Linked DNA regions of Homo sapiens: region 1 is linked to region 2. Evidence: promoter capture Hi-C in human tissues and cell types (Jung and others, 2019). All regions are on one chromosome and are shown on one strand. Each heading gives the region's core, a stretch centred on a gene start or on the middle of the fragment in contact. The rest is flanking DNA. Distances are from core to core; before and after follow the strand shown.

The links. The method cuts DNA at HindIII sites, captures the fragments that hold promoters and counts their contacts. A contact is called where the count stands out against the background at its distance.
Region 1: a contact is called between a fragment that was not itself captured here and the fragment with the promoter of ANKDD1A in region 2, in 1 of the 25 tissues and cell types used here (hippocampus).

The regions. Positions count from the first base shown.
Region 1 is chr15:64,721,722-64,728,211 of GRCh38, forward strand. No RefSeq gene overlaps it. Among named protein-coding and RNA genes, the nearest start is that of OAZ2, 22 kb to the left of the region's middle. The HindIII fragment of the contact is 6,629 bases long and covers 1-5,820 here.
Region 2 is chr15:64,908,049-64,914,028 of GRCh38, forward strand. It overlaps ANKDD1A (ankyrin repeat and death domain containing 1A), which reads left to right and starts at 3,854. Exons shown (of 15, transcript NM_182703.6): 1 at 3,854-3,916. The coding sequence starts at 3,883. RefSeq lists silencers at 3,082-3,376, 3,450-3,499, 3,700-3,879 and an enhancer at 4,066-4,609. The HindIII fragment of the contact is 17,737 bases long and covers 1-5,980 here.

The sequences.
Region 1 (6,490 bases), core at 1,256-3,755, 190 kb before region 2:
GACATATCTGTAATCCAAGCACTTTGGGAGGCTATGGTGGGAGGATTGCTTGAGGCCAGGTGCTCAAGGTTACAGTGAATAATGATCATACCACTGCATTCCAGCCTGAGTGATAGACTGAGACCCTGTCTCTACAAAAAAATATAAAAACAGTTTCGAAGGATGTGATTTCTTTGCAATTTTTTTTTGTATTAGAAATATTGAAGCTGGACACAGTGACTCATGCCTGTAATCCCAGCACTATGGGAGGCCGAGGCAGTGGGCAGATTGCTTGAGGCCAGGAGTTTGAGTCCAGCCTGGCCAACAAAGCAAAACCCCATCTCTACTAAAAGTACAAAAATTAGCCGGGCATGGTGATGCGTACCTGTAATCCCAACAACTCAGGAGGCTGAGGCATTAGAATTGCTTGAACCTCGGAGGCAGAGATTGCAGTGAGTTGAGATCAACCCAGTGCACTCCAGCCTGGGTGACAGAGTGAGACTCTGTCTCAAAAAAAAGAAAGAAAAAGAGGCCAGGTGCAGTGGCTCACGCCTGTAATCCCAGCGCTTTGAGAGGCAGAGGCGGGCGGATCACTTGAGGTCAGGAGTTTGAGACCAGCCTGGCCAACATGGTGAAACCCTGTCTCTACTAAAAATACAAAAAATAGCCAGGCGTGGTGGCGTGTGCATGTAATCCCAGCTGCTTGGGAGGCTGAGGCAAGAGAATCGCTTGAACCCAGGTGTCGGAAGTTGCAGTGAGCCAAGATCATGCCACTGCACTCTAGCCTGGGCGACAGAGTGAGACTCCCTCTCAAAAAAAAAAAAAAAAGAAAGAAAGAAAAAAAGAAAAAGTAAGCTGTTCTTTAGCACAGGAAATTTTACATCACTCCTTTTTCTCCTTGAACTTGTATTTTCTTTTTACTTCTCTCACATAATGCTTTCCTAATACAATATGTACTTTATCCCTTTTTTTTTTTTTTTTTTTTTTTTGAGATGCAGTCTTGCTGTGTTGCCCAGCCCAGGCTGGAGTGCAATGGCACAATCTCAGCTTACAGCAATCTCCGCCTCCCGGGTTCAAGCGATTCTCCAGCCTCAGCCTCCCCAGTAGCTGGGATTATAGGTGCCTGCCACCACGCCCAGCTAATTTTTGAATTTTGAGCAGAGACAGGGTTTCACCATGTTGGCCAGGCAGATCTTGAACACCTGACCTCAGGTGATCCACCCACCTCAGCCTCCCAAAGTGCTGGGATTATAGGCGTGAGCCACTGCGCCCAGCATTTTTTTTTTCCCCCAAGATGGAGTTTCACTCTTGTTGCCCAGACTGGAGTGCAGTGGCGCGATATCAGCTCACCGCAAGCTCTGCCTCCCGGGTTCCAGCGATTCTCCTGCCTCAGCCTCCCGAGTAGCTGGGATTATAGGCATGCACCACCACGCCCAGCTAATTTTTGTATTATTAGTAGAGACAGGGTTTCTCCATGTTGGTCAGGCTAGTCTCAAACTCCTGACCTCAGGTGATCCACCCACCTCAGACTCCCAAAGTGCTAGCTAGGATTACAGGCGTGAGCAACTGCACCCGGCCAAGAATTCTTAAATATAAGACACAAAATTGTATAGGAAATACAACTTATATTGAGAGAGATGTTCTCATGCTAGAGTGAGACAGTGATAAGCATCAATGTTTTTGTTGGCTGGTTGGTTGTTTTTCTGAGACAGAGTCTTGCTCTGTTGCCTAGGCTGGAGTGCAGTGGTGCAAATGTGGTTCACTGCAGCCTCGACCTCTTGGGCTCAGGCAGTCTCCTGCCTCAGCCTCCCACGTACATGGGAATACAGGTGTGCATGACCATGCTCAACTAATTTTTTGTAGAGACAGGGACTCACTTTGTTGCCCAGGCTGGTCTCCTGGGCTCAAGCCTTGGCCTCTCAAAGTGCTGGGATTACAGGTATGAGCCATTATGCTTAGGCTGTGTTTTCGTTGTTATTGTTGTCTTTTTTTTTTTTTTTTTTTTTTGAGACAGTCTGACTGTGTTGCCCAGGCTGGAGTGCAGTAGCTATTCACAGGCATGATCGTAGTTCACTGCAGCCTCAAACTTCTAGGCTCAAGTGATCCTCCTGCCTCAGTCTCCTGAGTAGCTGGGACTACAGGTACATACCGCCACACCTGGCTAGGCTCAATTTTATTTCAACGTTTCAATCTCACACATGGTAATGCTGAGGTATCTTATTCACATAAGTACCTGGGAAAGGAAGAAGTTCTAGCAGAGTCACTCAATACCACCTAATCATCAAGCAGATGACAACAAAATTTGTTTCAGGTCCTTCCATTCAAAAGCAAAATATTGGGAAAGCTTTAGTTTGTAGAAAGGATCTATAATACAGTCATTTGAGTCATTCACTTTCTCAATATTGAAATCACTATTTCAAACTGTTTCTGTTTGAATTCCCAGAGATTTTTACACATCAAGACAATATACCAAATACCAGATCTCCCAACATACCAAACATCAGATCAACCAACAAACCAAATACCAGATCACCAACAAACCAAATACCAGATCTCCCAACATACCAAATACCAGATCACCAACATACCAAATACCAGATCACCAACATACCAAATACCAGATCTCCAACATACCAAATACCAGATCTCCAACATACCAAATACCAGATCTCCAACATACTAAATACCAGATCACCTAGCATACCAAATACCAGATCTCCCAACATACCAAATATCAGATCAACCAACAAACCAAATACCAGATCACCAACAAACCAAATACCAGATCTCCCAACATACCGAATACCAGATCACCAACATACCAAATACCAGATCTCCAACATACCAAATACCAGATCTCCAACATACCAAATACCAGATCACCTAACATACCAAATACCAGCTCTCCCAACATACCAAATACAAGATCTCCCAACATACCAAATACCAGATCTCCAACATACCAAATACCAGATCAACAACATACTAGATCTCCTAAGATCTAGGATGAAGGGCCAGGCATGATGGCTCATGCCTATAATCCTAGCACTTTGGGAGGCTGAGGTAGGTGGATCACTTAAGCCCAGGAGTTTGAGACCAACCGGAGCAACATGGCAAAACCCCATCTCTACTAAAAATACAAAAATTAGCCAGGCACGATGGCTCACACCTGTAATCCCACACTTTGGGAGGCTGAGGCGGGAGGATCACTTCAGGCAAGAGGTCTAAGACCAGCCTGGCCAACATAGCAAAACACCGTCTCTACTAAAAACACAAAAAATTAGGCCAGGTGCGGTGGCTCATGCCTGTAATCCCAGCACTTTGAGAGGTCGAGGCGGGCAGATCACAAGGTCAGGAGTTCCAGAACAGCCTGACCAACATGGTGAAACCCCGTCTCTACTAAAAACACAAAAATTATCTGGGCATGGTGGCTTGCACCTGTAGTCCCAGCTACTCAGGAGGCCGAGGCAGGAGAATCACTTGAACCCAGGAGGCGGAGGTTGCAGTGAGCCGAGATCGAGCCACTGCACTCCAGCCTGGGTGACAGAGCGAGACTATGTCTCAAAAAAAAAAAAAAAAAAAAAAATAGCCAGGTGTGGTGGTGCGCACCTGTAATCCCAACCACTGCACTCCAGCCTGGGCGACAGAGCAAGACTCCATCTCAAAAAAAAAAAAAAAAAAAATTAACCCGGTGTGGTGGCGTGCACCTTAATCCCAGCTACTCGGGAGAGTGAGGGAGAATCACTGGAACCCAGGAGGCAGAGGTTGCAGTGAGCCGAGATCGTGCCACTGCACTTCAGCCTGGGTGACAGAGGGTGACTCTCTCAAAAAAATAAACAAGTAAATAAAAATAAAAATACAAAAATTAGGCAGATGTGATGGCACATGCCTGTAATCCCATCTATTCAGGCAGTTGAGGTGGGAGGATCACTTGAGCCTGAGAGGTCGAGGCTTCAGTGAGCCATGATCTCACCACTGCACTCCAGTCTGGGCAACAGGGTGAGAACTTGTCTCAAAAAAAAAACAAAAAAAAGCCTGTAATCCCAGCACTTTGGGAGGCCGAGGTGGGCAGATCACCTGAGGTCAGGAGTTCGAGACCAGCCTGGCCAACATGTCAAAACTCCTCTCTACTAAAAATACAAAAATTAGCCAGGCGTGGTGGCACATGCCTGTAATCACAGCTACTCAGGAGGCTGAGGCAGGAGCATCACTTGAACCCGGGAGGCGGAGGTTGCAGTGAGCTGAGATCGTGCCATTGCACTCCAGCCCAGGTGACAGAGCAAGACTCCATCTCAGAAAAAAAAAGATATAGGATGGGTGAGACATATATGTCCTTTGTAGCATATCCACTAAATTATGCTATAATAACAACCAACATCAAAATCTATGTTGCTTAAGCCAACAAAGGTTCCTCCCCATCTTCCCCAACACTCTAATGTCCATCACAAGTTGGTTGAGGTTCTGATCCATACCATCATCACTCAGAGATCCAGACTCTACCAGCTAAAATGTCATCAGTCACCATGGCAGAGAGAAGGTAAGAAGGAGAATCACATACTGGCTCGTAAATGCTTCTACCCAGAAGAGACACTTTTGCTCATAGTTCACTGTCCAAAGCAAGTCACACGGCCACGCCTAACTTCTAAAAGGTGGGAAAACACTCGGAGGGAAGAGAACAGAAAAAAGAGAGGGGAAGCACTCATGCTTCCTACATATTTCTTTTGTAAAGTAAGAGAAAAGAAATTGTAAAAACGAAGGGAGGACAGGCAATCTCAGTCATAAATAGTTCTTATTAAAGATGACACTGGGCACAGTGGCTCACACCTGTAATCCCAGCACCTTGGGAGGCTGAGGCAGGAGGATCACTTGAGTCCAGGGGTTTGAGACCAGCCTGGGCAACATAGTGAGACCCTGCCTCTGCAAAAAATGAACAAAATTAGCCAGGTGTGGTGGCACGTGCCTATAGTCCCAGCTACTTGGGAGGCTGAGGTGGGAGAAGTGCCTGAGCCGGGAAAGTCAAGGCTGCAGTGAACCAAAATCAAGCCACTGTACTCCAGCCTGGGTGACAGAGTGAGACTCTGTCGAAAAAAAAAAAAGAAAAAAAAAAAGACTTTTTGGAAATTGATTCCCTTAAACATAAGCCCACCTGCCCTTAGAAAATTCTTTTTGTAGCCAGGCACAGTGGCTCACACCTGTAATCCCAACACTTTGGGAGGCCAAGGAGGGAGCATCACTTGAGACCCGGAGTTCAAGACCAGTCTGGTCAACACGGTGACATCCCGTCTCTACTAAAAATACAAAAATTAAGGCTGGGCAAGGTGGCTCATGCCTGTTATCCCAGCACTTTGGGAGGCCGACGGGGGTGGATCACCTGAGGTCAGGAGTTTGAGACCAGCCTGACCAACATGGTGAAACCCTGTCTCTACTAAAAATACAAAAATAGCCGGGCGTGGTGGCACATGTCTGTAATCTCAGCTACTTGGGAGGCCTGAGGCAGCGAATTGCTTGAACCTGGGAGGCAGAGGTTGCAGTGAGCCGAGATTGCACCACTGCACTCCAGCCTGGGCTACAGAGCAAGACTCCATCTCAAAAAGTAAGTAAATAAATAAAAATTTAAAAATTAAACAAATAAAAATAAAAACAGTGAAAATTCTTTTTGTACCTCTTGGGGTGCAAATACTAGTTTGAAGACCACTACTTCCTTTTTGAAGGCTTCCCTGACCCCTACATCCGGGGACCACTCTCTGACGTTCCCACTGTTGCTATTGTACTATCTACTTGAAAGCTGCTGGGAGCTGGTTATCTTTTTAGATGAGTATCATGTTTTCCTAACAGGCTATATAGTCTCTTTGAGGATGGGAACCCTATCTTCAGGTTTTTTGTATCCCCTACACCATCAAACACGGACACTCAGAAAGTATTTGAGTTCAGTTTGATGGCAGACACTTTTCTCCGCGTGCTTCATCTCCTCATGTATGAAGTTGGAACAGCAAGGCCTACCCTTACAATTACACTGAGATGAAGGAAATAAGAGCCTCTTCAGCTCACTCCCACTCACCTAACTGGGATCAGCATCCCAATACTCCACTTCTGAGAAACTGGATGGTCCAGCTTTATGTAACAAGGAGCTATTGAAGGCTCTTGACAAGGTCTGTAGCGAGTGGGTCTGGGGCAGACCAGCCTGATATCAGTGACTGCTGGGTGGTTGGGGGGCATGAGAGACAGTGTGTGTTGGGGAAAAACAGCTAAGGACAGAAAGTACCGACAGAAAGTTGCTCCTATGGGCCAGGCACAGTGGCTCATGCCTGTAATCCAGTACTTTCAAAGGCTGAGGGCAGGAAGATTGCTTGAACCCAGGAGTTTGGGACCAGCCTGGGCAACACAGTGAGACCCCCATCTCTACAAAAATTTTATTTTAATTAGCTGGTGGTGGTGGCTAGTACCATTGCACTCCAGCCTGGGTGTTTTTCTTTTTTAAAGAAAGAAAGTTGCTCCTATGATCCACAAATGA
Region 2 (5,980 bases), core at 2,604-5,103:
ACGGCTCTTAAACATAGAAACAGATAACCAACTTTTCTTGTAATGATAGAAATGCAAACTAAGATTATAATGAATTACTATTTCTTACTTATCAGATTGGGAAAAATCCAAGTTTTACAGAATGTTCTCCTTGGAAACAGGCACCCTCATACATTGGTAATGGAAATGCAAAATATTTCTGGACCTTATGGAGGAGAATTTGGCAATAGCTAGCAAAGTTATATGTGCATTTACCCTTTGACCAAGCAATCCCATTTATAAGAATAGATCCCATAGATGCACTGGTAAAAATACCAACTGATGCATGCATAAGGTTGGTCATTGTAACTCTATTGTAATAACAAAAGTCTGGAAACAGGGCCAATGTCCATCAACAGGGAGTGGTTGAATAAGCCACCCAATGGAGGACTCTGAGGCTGTACAAAGGATGCAGGAAGATCTCAACAGACTACTGCGGAGAGATCTCTGTAGTAGATTGTTCCCAGAATAAAGCCAGAAGAATGTTCAGAACGGGCAAATCTATGGAGAAAGAAAGTAGATTTGTAGTTGCCTAGGGCTGTGTGTGGAGGGTTGGGGAGGGTAAACTGCAAGGGGGGGTGATAGCTAAAGCATATGGGCTTTCTTTTCTGGGGTGATGAAAATATTTAGTGGTGATAGTTATACAACTCTGAACGATACTGTACTAAAAACCATTGAATTATACACTTAAATGGGTGAATTTTAAGGGGCAGGGCAAAGTAAGAAGATGATATATAGTATGCTACTGCAGTAAAGGGAGAATATATGATTAAATTAAACAATATAAGGGTAAGCATCAACAACACAAATGTTATTTTGTCAGTCAGGATGCAGTGAAGGAAGCAGAATCATGTTGAGGTTATGGGTTTAGGGTACTGGTCCCCAACCTTTTGGCACTAGGGTCCAGTTTTGTGGCAGACAATTTTTTACAGGACTTGGGTGGTGGGGGGATGGTTTTGGGATAAAATTGTTCCCCTTCGGATGATCAGGCATTAGTTAGATTCTCATAAGAAGTGTGCAACCTAGGTTGGGCATGGTGGCTCACGCCTGTAATCCCAGTACTTTGGGAGGCCGAGGCAGGTGGATCACTTGAGGTCAGGAGTTTGAGACCAGCCTTACCAACATGGTGAAACCCCATCTCTACTAAAAAAATACAAAATTAGCCGGGCATGGTGGCGCAAACCTATAATCCCAGCTACATGGGAGGCTGAGGCAGGAGAATTGCTTGAACCCGGGAGGCAGAGATTGCAGTGAGCCATTGCACTCCAGCCTGGGCAACAAGAGCAAAACTCCATCTCAAAAAAAAAAAAAAGAAGTGTGCAACCTAGATTCCTCACATGCACAGTTCACAATAGGGTTCACCCTTCTATGAGAATCTAATGCCACCACTGATCTTTCAGGATGCGGAGCTCAGGTGGTAATGCTCGCTCTCCTGCTGCTCACCTCCTGCTGTGTGGCCCAGTTCCTAACAGGCCATAGACCAGTACTAGTCTGAAGCCTGGGGGTTGGAGACCCCTGGGATTAGGGATCTGTGATAGTAATTTGCCTTACACAGTTGCGGAAGGACCAGAAGGGGAGTTGGGGATCAGAGGAGTCCTTAGTCAGTCATCTGAGAAACCAAGTATGTCCAGCTGCTAAAATGGAACCACAAGGGAAAGCTCCTGGGGAGGTCTATGGGTGGTACTAATGCCCTGGGTCTGCAGCCAAGTCCGCGATGGCCTGGGGCCACTGTTGGTCAGCAGGCTCAGCAGCTGGGAAGAAAAGCTGGATGTGGAGTGAAGGAGAGTGACAGCAGGCTGGAAGCCAGTGGTGCCCTCTTCATCCATCACCACAGCTGACTATGACAACCTTCAGAGACTTAACTTTGAAACATGTAAATACTTTACATAATTGTAAAGCAAAATTAACATTTAAAAATATCAAAAAACAAAAGCAAAACAAAATAAATAAACCATGCATGTTGAGTTGGTGGCATAACCACATAAAGAACTATTCCAAGTGACTAAAACAGTAACGTGACACTATGCCCCTAGTGGGATGTACATGTGACAAAAGCTTTACAAAAAACATTTAAACTGTTTTCAGGAATAATATCTTTGGCTAGGCGTGGTGGCCAAGCACTTTGGGAGACCTAGGTGGGTAGATCACCTGAGGTCAGGAGTTCGAGGCCAGCCTGGCCAACATGGTGAAACCCCCGTCTCTACTAAAAATACAAAAATCAGCCGCGTGTGGTGGCACACACCTGTAGTCCCAGCTACTTGGGAGGTTTAGGCATGAGAATCGCTTGAACCTGGGAGGCAGAGGTTGCAGTGAGCTGAGATTACGCTACTGCACTCCAGCTTGGGCAACACAGTGAGACTCTGTCTTAAAAAAAAAACAAAAACAAAAAGGGGGGGGTGCGGCGCAGTGGCTCACACCTGTAATCCCAACACTTTGGGAGGCCAAGGTAGGTGGATCACCTGAGGTCAGGAGTTCAACACCAGCCTGACCAACATAGTGAAACCCCATCTCTACTAAAAATACAAAATTATCCAGGTGTGGGGGCGAGTGCCTGTAATCCTAGCTACATGGGAGGCTGAGGCAGGAGAACTGCTTGAACCCAGGAGGCAGAGGTTGCAGTGAGCCGAGATCATACCACTGTACTCCAGCCTGGGCGAAAGAGTGAGACTCTGTCTCAGAAAAAAAAAAATCATATCTTTGATTATTATGTTGGAATTGTTATTTTGAGACCATTTTGAGGGGTTGGCTCAGGGCTCATTAATTGTTAGCTGTTATCATTATGTTATTTTTCAAAGGCCATTCCAAATACCTCCTTCTTCAGGAAGCCTTCTTGAACTATATTCTAAGGACTAATGACTGAAAGATGCTCTTCCTCCTTTGATCCCCAAAGTAGTAGTAACTACACCTATCATGGCTTTGCTGGCTTCTTGCCTTGGGATAGAGATGCCTGAGACCCCATTATCCCTAAATTCAAAGAAGCTGTAAATGCCTTTAAGGCAAAAAGGACATGGACATCCCCCAAGGGTCTGAAGTGCAACCCATTCTGGTGTATTTAATGTGTATCTTTTTGTTTCTATGTGTCTTTGCAAGTCTGTGTTGTTTGATGTAAATGCATTTGTAATATTTTTATTGATATTGTTTCCTAGGTCTTATTTGGTTTGGTTATTTACTTTTTCTGCCTAGCACTAGGTGTTTAAATCCATATTGCCACGAATACAGCGGGTCCCTTGCTTTGAGTGCTGCACAGTTTATCCATCTGCTCTTACAAGAAAGGGCGCTTAGATTGTCTCCAACTCCCAGCAACCACAGCAACACAGCAACCAACATCCTCCTACATGTCCCTTTATGGGCCTGATAAATCTTTCTGAACACTGATAAATCCGACCATCTCTTCATATGCTTGCAGACCTGCTGAGGTTGTGGTCCCTTAAACGCCAGCTCACATCTTTGGGGTTTGACTTTCTGCGCCTGAGGCGGCGGGCCCAAGGCTCAGCCCTCCTCCCCGAGTCCCGAGAGGCGCGAGGAGGATGAGCCTGCCAGATGCCTTGTGCGCATCTATCTCCAGGGCCGGGGAGGCTGGGCGAACTCCCGGGGAGGAGACTGGGTCAGGGACACCTGCGGAACTCGGCGTGGCCCCGACCCGCCGGCCTCGGGCGCGGAGGGGTGGGCAGGTTAAGAGAGCAGGAGGAGGGACCTGCGTCCTGGTCCGGGACTGGGGTGGCCGGGGCAGCTGCGCTCCTAGCAGGCGGGGCGTGGAGTCTGGAGGAGCGACCGCCCCGTCCTCTCGGCTCCCCGGGCCCCGCCCCGGCGGACGCGCGCCTCGCGCCCGGGCACCAGCGCGCGCAGGGGCTGCGGAGCGGCAGGATGCAGGAGGAGCTGGCGTGGGAGACCGACGGCCGTGAGTCTGCCTGGAGGAGGGAGGGGGGCGGGCCGAGGCCGAGAGGACCCCCGCATCCGTTTGGGGAGTGCCAGGGGTGAGGTTGGCGCCCTCCGAACGGCCACCTCCGTGTGGGGCGTCTGTGTGGCTCCGAGCGGAATGGTTACCGGTCCGCGCACTGGGCCGAGGGGACCTTGCCAGTGCGTCTGGGACTCGGGGACCACACCCGCCAGGTGAGCGGGGAGCAGCGGCTGAGAGGTTAGCTACAAATAATAAAGGTAATAGCGATCCTTGACTGCGTGCTGTACTTTGTGTGCCAGGCCTTGACCCAGGAGAGGCACGTCATTTGATCTTCGCTGCGGCCATATGGGTAGGACATTATGTTATCTTCATTTCGCAGATGAGAAACTGAGGCACAGGGTGTTCAAATGAGTTGTTCAAGGTCACACAGCCATTGAGTGGTAGAAGTGCTGAAGGGCCCAGCTCACCCGGAATGCTGGGGCTGGATAGCGAGTGGAGACCGCATCAGATGGGGCACGCACTCAGAGGAGAGGAGCCTGACTGGCCACAGGTGGAATGAGGGCACCTCCGAACCTCCCTCAAGGAGTGCGCCCAGTGCCAGGGCCTCTAGGCCGGGCAGCAGCGTCTGTGTGGGCATCAGCTGGCCTGGGGCAGCTTTGGCTGCACCGTCTGGGAGAGGGGAGAGAAAGATTGTGTCGGTGTCTGCACTGTGAGTCCTTGATCCTGCAGCCCTGGCTGAATCCTGACAGCTGAATCCCGGGGCTTTCCCTCAAAAGCGCATAGTGCAGCTCACTGGATTCCTTTGAGACCTATAGTGTCCAAAATGCTGGCACACTGCATCTACTCAGCTGAGGGATGTGTTGGGGGTGGGAATGCTCAATCAAGATTAGGTACATGGTTCTGCCTGGGGCGGAGGATCACTTGAGTGGGCCTGCGAAGAATGTGTACCAATGGAGCATTGGGGTGTGTGGCAGAGAATTCTGGACAAAGACCCAGCATGGGCAAAGGCTCAGGTAGCTCAGTGGGTATTGGATGTGGCCAGAAAGAGGGTGCCGGATGGGAGGTGGATGGAAGAGATGAGACTGGACTTGATTTCATTCTAACTTAACCTTCTCTGGCCTGACCCTATGCAGTGTCTGCTGGCTTCCCATTGGAACTCCTGGCTGTTTGCCAATACAAACCAGGCCAATCCCCCTAAGCTGCACATAAGATAGAGGGTGCCAGACAGGAAGGGACCTATACAGATCTCTTTCTTCACCCTCCCCCAGTTTTACAATGGAAGAAACAGACCTACAAGGGGGATGTGACTAGCCCAGGATCCTGCTGCTGGAAAGTGGCAGGGAAGGTACTAGAACCCAGGCCTCTGTAAGCTCACATCTGAAGTGGCAGCTCTCTTTGGCTACCAGAATTTGACCCTTTGCCTTGGAGGAATAATAGTGATGATGATGGTGGTGGTGGTGGCGGTGTGGTCATTATGTGCCAGACACTGTGCCAGGGGGTTTTCATATCTCATTTCTAATCATGATATTAACCTTGTAGGGAAGCTCGCACTCCTGTTTTGCAGATGAGGAAACTGCCTAACACAGCTAGGAAGTGGTTAAGCCAGAGTTGAACCCAGGACTGTGTGATTGCCCCCCAGGGTAGCAACTCTGAGATCCACAGGTTGTATCCATGAGGCCCCAGAAAGCTCAAGATCCTCTTTCTCATCTGGAGAAGACTGTGTGGAATTTATCTAGAAAAACAAACTGCATGGCAGGCCTGTCTCTCACCTCAGTGCATCTTAGCCTTCCCTACCAAGACACTCGTCACCTGTCCCTGGATACACAAAGGGGCTGGGTTCAGACATTCATACTGGACCAAACATGCAGGCTATGGGGTCACTTGCCCTGCAGTGACTATGGAAAGGGCCAGCAAATATTTGTCTCTGTGCTAGTATGTGTGAGCACTTTGGGAGAGGGGACAGGCATCTATTCGTCTGGGGATTGTTGGTGTCACTCATACAAGCAGAGATTTTTTTGTTTCTGTTTTCTTTTTTTTTTTTTGAGATGGAGTCTCGCTCTGTCA